3 separate regions of the Homo sapiens genome follow, and regions 2 and 3 are each linked to region 1. Evidence: promoter capture Hi-C in 16 types of primary human blood cells and fetal thymus (Javierre and others, 2016). All regions are on one chromosome and are shown on one strand. Each heading gives the region's core, a stretch centred on a gene start or on the middle of the fragment in contact. The rest is flanking DNA. Distances are from core to core; before and after follow the strand shown. Region 1 holds the start of ZNF222 (zinc finger protein 222). Region 2 overlaps ZNF225 (zinc finger protein 225). Region 3 overlaps ZNF45 (zinc finger protein 45).

What was found. The method cuts DNA at HindIII sites, captures the fragments that hold promoters and counts their contacts. A CHiCAGO score of 5 or more calls a contact.
Region 2: a fragment that was not itself captured here is called in contact with the fragment with the promoter of ZNF222 in region 1 in 7 of 17 cell types (non-activated CD4 T cells, total CD4 T cells, total CD8 T cells and 4 more); the score reaches 8.4 in non-activated CD4 T cells.
Region 3: a contact is called between a fragment that was not itself captured here and the fragment with the promoter of ZNF222 in region 1, in 1 of 17 cell types (total CD8 T cells). The highest score is 5.4, in total CD8 T cells.

What each region holds. Positions count from the first base shown.
Region 1 is chr19:44,024,048-44,026,747 of GRCh38, reverse strand. ZNF222 (zinc finger protein 222) reads right to left here and starts at 1,369. Exons shown (of 4, transcript NM_001129996.2): 1 at 1,270-1,369. The coding sequence starts at 1,311. ZNF222-DT (ZNF222 divergent transcript) reads left to right here and starts at 1,466. Exons shown (of 3, transcript NR_184028.1): 1 at 1,466-1,633; 2 at 1,729-1,850. RefSeq lists enhancers at 1,074-1,123, 1,354-1,403. The HindIII fragment of the contact is 1,542 bases long and covers 13-1,554 here.
Region 2 is chr19:44,117,333-44,120,032 of GRCh38, reverse strand. It overlaps ZNF225 (zinc finger protein 225), which reads right to left. Exons shown (of 5, transcript NM_013362.4): 3 at 1,719-1,845; 4 at 1,459-1,551. Among named protein-coding and RNA genes, the nearest start is that of ZNF225, 5.3 kb to the right of the region's middle. The HindIII fragment of the contact is 2,373 bases long and covers 248-2,620 here.
Region 3 is chr19:43,923,053-43,925,752 of GRCh38, reverse strand. It overlaps ZNF45 (zinc finger protein 45), which reads left to right. Exons shown (of 10, transcript NM_003425.4): 4 at 295-428; 5 at 1,192-1,351; 6 at 1,443-1,515. It overlaps ZNF45-AS1 (ZNF45 antisense RNA 1), which reads right to left. Exons shown (of 3, transcript NR_184050.1): 2 at 499-611. Among named protein-coding and RNA genes, the nearest start is that of ZNF45, 11 kb to the left of the region's middle. The HindIII fragment of the contact is 2,032 bases long and covers 257-2,288 here.

The sequences.
Region 1 (2,700 bases), core at 120-2,619:
TTCAGGAAAGCTTGCTGCAGAGTTAGAGTGATATAGTCCAAATGCTCTGTTTGAGTCGCGGGCCCTTTGACGAAAATGAGACTGAGGCAGGAGAATCACTTGAACCCGAGAGGCGGAGGTTACAGTGAGCCAAGATTGCACCACTGCACTCCAGCCTAAGCAACAAGAGCGAAACTCTGTAAAAAAAAAAATATATATATATATAGAGAGAGAGAGAGAAAGAAAATAGTAGATAAGGTTAAAAAAATTAAAAAGCAAAAAGCAAACAAACAAAAACTCCTATAGAAGTCCAAGCCCCTGAGCCTTGCCTCAAGGTGCCTTCAATCAAGTCCTAACTTACGTTCTCCACCTGTTCCCAGCTAGTACCTCTGCCTCAATGAGAATTGCATTCAAGAGATGATCAACTCAGGCTCTAACCTGGACTGCCTAGGTTTCAACTCCTGCTCCACCTGTGTCTCACGCCCATCTTTAAAATGAAAAAAGCAGCACCTCTCCACAGTGCCACTGTGAAGATCATGTATTTTGGGGTATAAAGTACTTGGAATAAAGTTACCAATTAAGGCTTAATCATTATCGACACCCATGCCCGAGGGACAAATCCTACACACTCTCGGTTGAGGTAAGCATCTCTGTCAAAGAAAAAAAGCCAAGGATCACTCACGTAGAGCTTTGCCATCAGTAGCCAAGAAGTCCCTTCCTGCAGCTCTTTTAGAAAGGTCGGGCTGGGGAAAAAGAAAGCTGTGAAACACCCTGACCGTTTTGCCGTCCCCCATAAAAGTTAAATGCTCCCCTCACTTTCCTAAAAAGAGGTCAGAAGGCGTCAGGGATCATCCAGCGTCCTGCAGGGATCAGGCAGAAGGGCCGGCGCCCCTGCAGCTGGAGCTCTGACCCCACCAGAGGACCTGACAGGCTTCGTGGGAAATTAACAAGAGACCACCAGACACCGAGTGACAGGGACTGCTTTTAAGGCTCTCATTTGTGTTACCTCTTTCAGGTCCCAAAATGAATCCATTAGGATGGTCCGAAAAGTCCCGTTACAAAACAAACAAACAAACGAACCAGCAATGGAAGATAAACGGACATTAAGTGACACTCCACACCACACTGAAAGGGGCTGCACACGTAGGGAGGAGGGAGGCGGACTAAGCGAGGTCAAAGTAGGGCACACCGGGCCGCGCCAATCCCACTCCCTGAGACCCTAGCAGAGCCCCCCGACGCCAGAAGGCTCAGCTGACTGGAACGGCAATCCCCGCCCGCGCCCCTCCAAACCTCTGCTCTCCGCCCAGGCTTCTTTTCTCCTGAATCGATCATTGGGTGGTTGCGAGCCCCAAGGAAAGGAGACTCGTTCGGAAGGACTCGCAAGATGTGGAAATGACTCAAACTACTGTGGTAAATGAAATAGCAACGTCACAGTTGGGGACCGGAAGTGCTCGAGCCTCCACAGAGCGTGTGGACTCCACTTCCCAGAATTCCCCGGACTCGCCCGTGTGAGACAAAGGGCCCGCGACTCAAACAGAGCATTTGGACTATATCACTCTAACTCTGCAGCAAGCTTTCCTGAAGTGGAGTTGGAGATAGCATTTCAGTAAATGTCCTTTACCCACTGCTTATTCGGGACACACCCTGTTGACTGGTGCGTGCAGTCTCCATTCCAAACCACTATTGCCATTCCTATCGCTTCCATAAAGCCTAAGAAATCAAATATTTTCTTTCTCTGCCTTCATCTAGCTAGAAATTTTCATGGGACACAATTTTGGGAAGTGAGACATTAGGAGAAGTGAGCTGTCCTCTCCTGACAAGAAATGTGCTTGGCAGGCTGTGAGTACACGAGGAGTTGAAAGAGTAAAAAGGTGATCGTCTCAGTGGACTGTAGGTATTGGCGAGGTTCTAATATTACTGATGCTAGCATGCTGGTGGGACCAAGGTGGAAATACAAGTCAAAGTTGTTGGAGAGTAGTGCTGCAAATTATTATGGAGGAATATTTGCTAGAAAATGACGAGGTCTAAAATATGACCATGGGAGAGAGTGTCCCTTGATATTTCACATGAATCTCAGGTGGATTTTTTCATTTCTGAGAAAAATGTTACTGTGATTAAGGATTGCATTGAATCTATAGATATAGGTATTGACAGCCTTGCAATATCAAGTCGCCCAATCCATTAATAATGGATATATCTCCATTTATTTGCGCCTTCTTTAATTTTTTTTTTTTTTTTTTTGAGACAGAGTCTCACTCTGTCGCCCAAGCTGGAGTGCAGTGGCACAATCTTGGCTCACTGCAACCTCCGCCTCCTGAGTTCAAGCGATTCTCCTGCCTCAGCCTCCCAAGTAGCTGGGATTACAGGCACGTACCACCATACCTGGCCAATTTTTGTATTTTTAGTGAAGACAGGGGTTTCACCAGGTTGGCCAGGCTGATCTCGAACTCCTGGCCTCAAGTTATTCGCCTGCCTGGGCCTCACAAAGTGCTGGGATTACAGGCATAAGCCACCATGCCTGGGGTGCCTTCTTTAATTTTCTTTAGTAAGATGTTGCAAAATTCAGTGTCCAAGTGTTTCTTGTCATTGGTTAAGACAGTTCCTAAGTAATTTATTTATTTAATGCTATTGCAAAGGGAACTATTTTCCTTTTCAGATTAATTGTTTTTGTATAGAAATACAACTGCTTCTTCTATGTAGATATTTTTCCTGCAACTTTCT
Region 2 (2,700 bases), core at 185-2,684, 93 kb before region 1:
TTGGCCAGGCTGGTCTCAAACTCCTGATCTCAGTGATCCACCCACCTTGGTCTCCGAAAGTAGTGGGATTACAGGCGTGAGCTACCGCGCCTGGCCTAGAATAGTATTTTAAATAGGGTGGTTGGAAATGGCCTCTCTAAAACTGAACAGAGACTTGAATATGCTTAAAGGAGAAGCCAGAAAGTTTTGAGGTGAAAGAGTATTCTGATCAGACAGAAAAGCAAGTAAGGGCTCTGAGGCAGAAGCTTCAGTAGTAGACAGAACAATGATTCATAAAAGATGTCCACATCCAGTACCCAAGACCTATGAACATGTTATATTACACAGCAAGGGGGACTGGGATTGCAGATGCAATTAAGGTCACTAATCAGCTAACAAGAAAGAGAGGTCATTGTGAATCATCCAGGGGTAACCAACACAATTACAAGGAACCTGAAAGGCAGGAGAGAGAGGCATAAGAAGAGTGGCAGAGTGAGCATGACTATGGAAGAAGGGTCAGAAATGCAAAGTAGCTGCCTTTGAAGATGGAGGAAGGGAAACAAGAGCCAAGGAATGCCTAGAGACTGGTAAACCAAAATAAAGGCTTCTCCTCAAGAGCATCCAGAAAGAAACAAACACCTACAGACAGCTTGATAATTGTCCGGTGAGACGTGTCAGACTTCAGGCCTAAAGAACAGAAAGATGATAAATTTTTGTTGTTTAGTCGACTAAATGTGTGGTCATTGGTTACTACAACAGGCAATACAGTGTCCTTGGCAGGTCAGAGAAACGGTAGGGAGGACAACGTGGCTGGAAGGACAAGGCAAAAGGGAGAGGACAGGAGATGTAGTCAGAGAGGTGGTGGGGGATGAAAAGCAGATCACATGGTCTCTAAAAGGCACTTAAAACACTTGTAACTTAAGTAAACATAAGAAGCCAGCCGGGCGCGGTGGCTCACGCCTGTAATCCCAGCACTTTGGGAGGCCAAGGCGGGCGGATCACGAGGTCAGGAGATCGAGACCATCCTGGCTAACACGGTGAAACCCCGTCTCTACTAAAAATACAAAAAATTAGCCGGGCGTGGTGGCGGGCATCTGTATTCCCAGCTACTCAGGAGGCTGAGGCAGGAGAATGGCGTGAACCCGGGAAGCGGAGCTTGCAGTGAGCCGAGATTGCACCACTGCACTCCAGCCTGGGCGACACAGCGAGACTCCATCTCAAAAAAAAAAAAAAGAAGCCAGAAAGGCTTTTGAGCCGAGGAATGGCAGTCTGACTTTCCTAAGGAATACATTGGCTGCCATGAGGAAAACAGATGTCAGGGTGGGAAAAGTGGGAGCAGGGAAACCAGCCGAAAGTCAGCTGTAATAATTCAGGAAAGAGGTCTGGCCATTTAGACCAGGACAACAGAGCTGGGCAATGGACAGAAGTGAAACCGATGGGAGAGTCACGCACAAGGACACAGAGTTGCTTGCTTCTTACCTAAATTCCCTTCTCTTTGGGTTGCTGTCTCCATCATCCAAAACTTTTCTTCCTTTAGGAAGTGGAAAGTATCTCTGTGGAGTGATTGATGCCCTGTGAACGTGAAAAGTCATGTGCTTAGTGCCAATATATCCTAGAAAAAAATCTAAGTAAAATTTACTGGAAACTTAGGTTCCCAATGCATACTCAAACTTGAACACTCTAGGATACAAAGCCACTCCTGGTCCTGATGTTCCCTTACAAAGGGTGCCTGTCCTCACCCACTGAGAGCAGGTTCCTGAAGTTCTCCAGCATCACTTCTCGGTACAGTTTCCTCTGGGCAAGGTCCAGCAGCCTCAGCTCTTCCTCAGTGAAGACCACAGCCACGTCCTTGAAGGTCACTGCCTCCTACAGCATCGAACATATGCAACCTCAGTCTCATGACCAATGACTACTGAGAGAGGGGTGGCACTGAGCAGACAGAGGGGAGGAATGAGAAGCTGTTTTGGATCTTGAGAGACATAGGTCAACACACAGACTTCCTTTTTTATTATTTTATTTTATTTATTTATTTATTTTGAGACAGTCTTGCTCTGTTGCCCGGGCTGGAGTGCAGTGGCATGATCTTGGCTCACTGCAACCTCCGATTCCCAGGTTCAAGTGATCCTCCCGCCTCAGCCTCCCAAGTAGCTGGGATTACAGGTGCCTGCCACCATGCCTGGCTAATTTTTGTATTTTTAATAGAGATGGGGTTTCACCACATTGGCCAGGCTGGTCTCAAACTCCTGACCTCAGGTGATCCGCCTGCCTCGGCCTCCCAAAGTGCTGGGATTACAGGCATGAGCCACTGCGCCCAGCCAGCTCATAGATTTGCTATTCATTCTGTCTGTATCCTGATAATGATGGATTTTCCTGAGCTCCACCAGAAGTGCAGTGATGGAAAAGACCTCCTGTAGGTTTACTTTGTGCACTTACTGAGTCTCCTTGTAAGTAACCCTGTAGGACTCTAAATGCAGCATCCTGGGCTGCACGTATATAGGTTTCAGTGAATCTTGCCAACTGCCCCAGTAACATTTAACAATTCAGTCCCAGTCTTGCCTGATAATTCCCATTGTTCTCTCTCATACTTGAACCCTGAATGTTATCATTTTTCTTTAATATCTGCCACCAAACTAACAAAGCTTGTGGTAACCTGTGTGGGACAGCTATACAGTACATCCTGTGTACTCTCAAGGCATAAACTACATACATTGATTGCAGCAT
Region 3 (2,700 bases), core at 23-2,522, 100 kb after region 1:
CTACTGGGGAGGCTGAGGCAGGATAATCTTTTGAACCCGGAAGGCTGAGGTTGCAGTAAGCTGAGATCATTCCACTGCACTCCAGCCTGGGCCACAGCGCAAGACTCCATTTCAGAAAAATAAATAAATAAGTATTTCTTCTAAGATTGGAAGGTTTTATGTTTCCCTTTTCAATAGTAAGGGTTCTTCTATCTGAAGTAAGAGAACTAAGAATAATTTACTAATAAATCAAGCAGTAATTAACTAATACTAAGCTTTTAATCTGGGTATTTTACTCGTTTCCACCCTCCATAGAATCAGAATCATACCCTGAGAGCTACAAGAACTCCATTTTTCACTGTGCAGAGGCTCTCTGCTGAAGGGTCAAGTGGAATCTGGAATCCAGCCCATGTTTCCCCATCATCAAGCCATGTGAAGCTGCAGACTCCGTGAGTGCCTTAGTCCATTTGTGCTGCTATAACAAACAATACCATAGGCTGGGTGGCTTAAACAACAAACCTTTATAACTCACAGTCCTGGAGACTGGGAAGTCCATGATCAAGTCACTGGCAAATCCAATGTCTAATGAGGCCACTCTTACTGGTTCGCAGAAGCTGTTGTCTTGTATCTTCCTGGGAGGAAGAGAGAAAGAGCTAGGTTACTTGCTTTTCTTACAAGGAAAGCAATCCCATTATGGAGGCTTCACCCTCATGACCTAATTACCTCCTAAAGGCCCCACCTCCCAATAACATCACATTAGGGCTTCAACATAAGAATTTTGAGGGGACACAGACATTGGTCCACAGCAGCAAGGGAGGGGCTCCCTGACTGTTTCATGTAAAGCATCTGCATGGGTTTATGTGTAACTTCTATTGATTGTTTAAGCTGCCAGAAACTGTTCCACATGTTTTGTGTATACTTAGTCACTTTCACTGACCTTCCTATGAAGTAGGTATTATTATTACATCCAGTTTATAGATTAGACATTAGAGCACAAAGTACTAGCAAGTTGGACATGCCTGTATTCCAGTACTGGTGGGCTGGTTCTGGAGTCTAGACTGTTCACAACTCTGTTCTCTACTCCCTCAAGCAGCTCCCTTGGCTTCAGAGTCCAATCTCCATTTCTGTGTCTGTCTTTTACCCCTAACTCTGGAGCCCTCATTTCTCCTTCCATGAGATCTTAGACTCCCATCTGCTTATTTTTGTCTTTAGAAGCAACAGAGAGACAAGATTTAGAATACTGGCTCTGGTATGAAAGCTGGATTCAGGTACTGTTCCTGCCTCTTGACCTCACCAAGCCTCAGCTTCCTCGCCTGTTAAATGGATACAATTGTCGTCATTATCATCTGTTGAGAACTCCCTAAAATGCCAGGTACTATGCCAAGGGCATTGCATAAATTCACTCATTGATTCCTCACAGTAATCCTATGATTAACATCCTGTTTTCATTTCCCTTCTTATAGCTGAGCATAGGCACAGAAGTTTAGGTGTTTGGACCAAGGTCACACAACTGATACAACAGTAGCTTCTTCACAGGTATGTGTGAAGTACCTTAATGAAACATCATGTGCCAAGTTCTTCATAAGGTCCCTAATATGTATTTAGTTAAATATCACCATTTTTGTTGTTATTATTGTGCTTCCTATAGCTTGTTAATTTCAGTGACATTATCTAATTTATAGTTGCATAAATCTTGCAGAGTCATGATTTTTTATTAAATTTTCTCTGTCTCTATGATAGTCTTTTTAAGGCCCTACTGTTAAAGTAAATTTTGCAAGGTCTTTTTTTTTTTTTTTAGATTTTTTTTTTTTCTCTTTAGAGATCACTCTGTTGGCCAGGTTGGTCTTGAACTCTTGGCCTCAAGCAGTCCTCCCACTTTGGCCTCCCAGAGTGCTAGGATTACAGGCATGAGCCACTCTACACAGCCAAATTTTGCAAGGTCTTATACCTTTTAGAAACCAGTCCATATAGTCAAATTCATAGAGATAACGTGGTTATCAGGGGCTGGGAGGGGGAATGGGGAATTATTACTTAATGGGTACATAAAAAATTCTGATGATGGATAGTGGTGATGGCTGCACAACAATGTAAATGTACTTACTGAATGTAACCACTTAAAAAATGGTTAAAATGGTAAATTTTATGTTACATATTTTACTATCAAAAAAAGCAGTCATCTATGTACAGTAGTCCCCCCTTATCCACAGCAGATACCTTCCAAGTCCCCCAGTGAATGACTTAAACCTCAGATATTACTGAACCCTAAATATACTATGTTTTTCCTTTACCTACATACTTATGATAAAGCTTAATTTATAAATTAGGCACAGTAAGAGACTAACAACAATAACTTATAATAAAATAGAATAATGATAAAATACTGTAACAAAAGTTCTATAAACATGGTCTCTCTCTCTCTCTCAGAATATCTTACTGCACTGTACTCACCTATTTTTGGGCCATAGTTGACTTCAGGTAACTGAAACCACAGAAAGCAAAACTATGGATAGGAAGGACCACTGTAATCTTAAATACTATTGCAAAAGCCTCAAATTAAGTATGGGAAACCAAGAGAGAATAACAGGTATTTCAGAGGTTAAAGGCGAGGTTAAAGTAGAGGTTAAAAAACCTCTACTAAAGAATTCATCAGCTGAGTGTGGTGGCTCACACCTGTAATCCCAGCACTTTGGGAGGCTGAGGCAGGAGGATCACTTGAGCTCA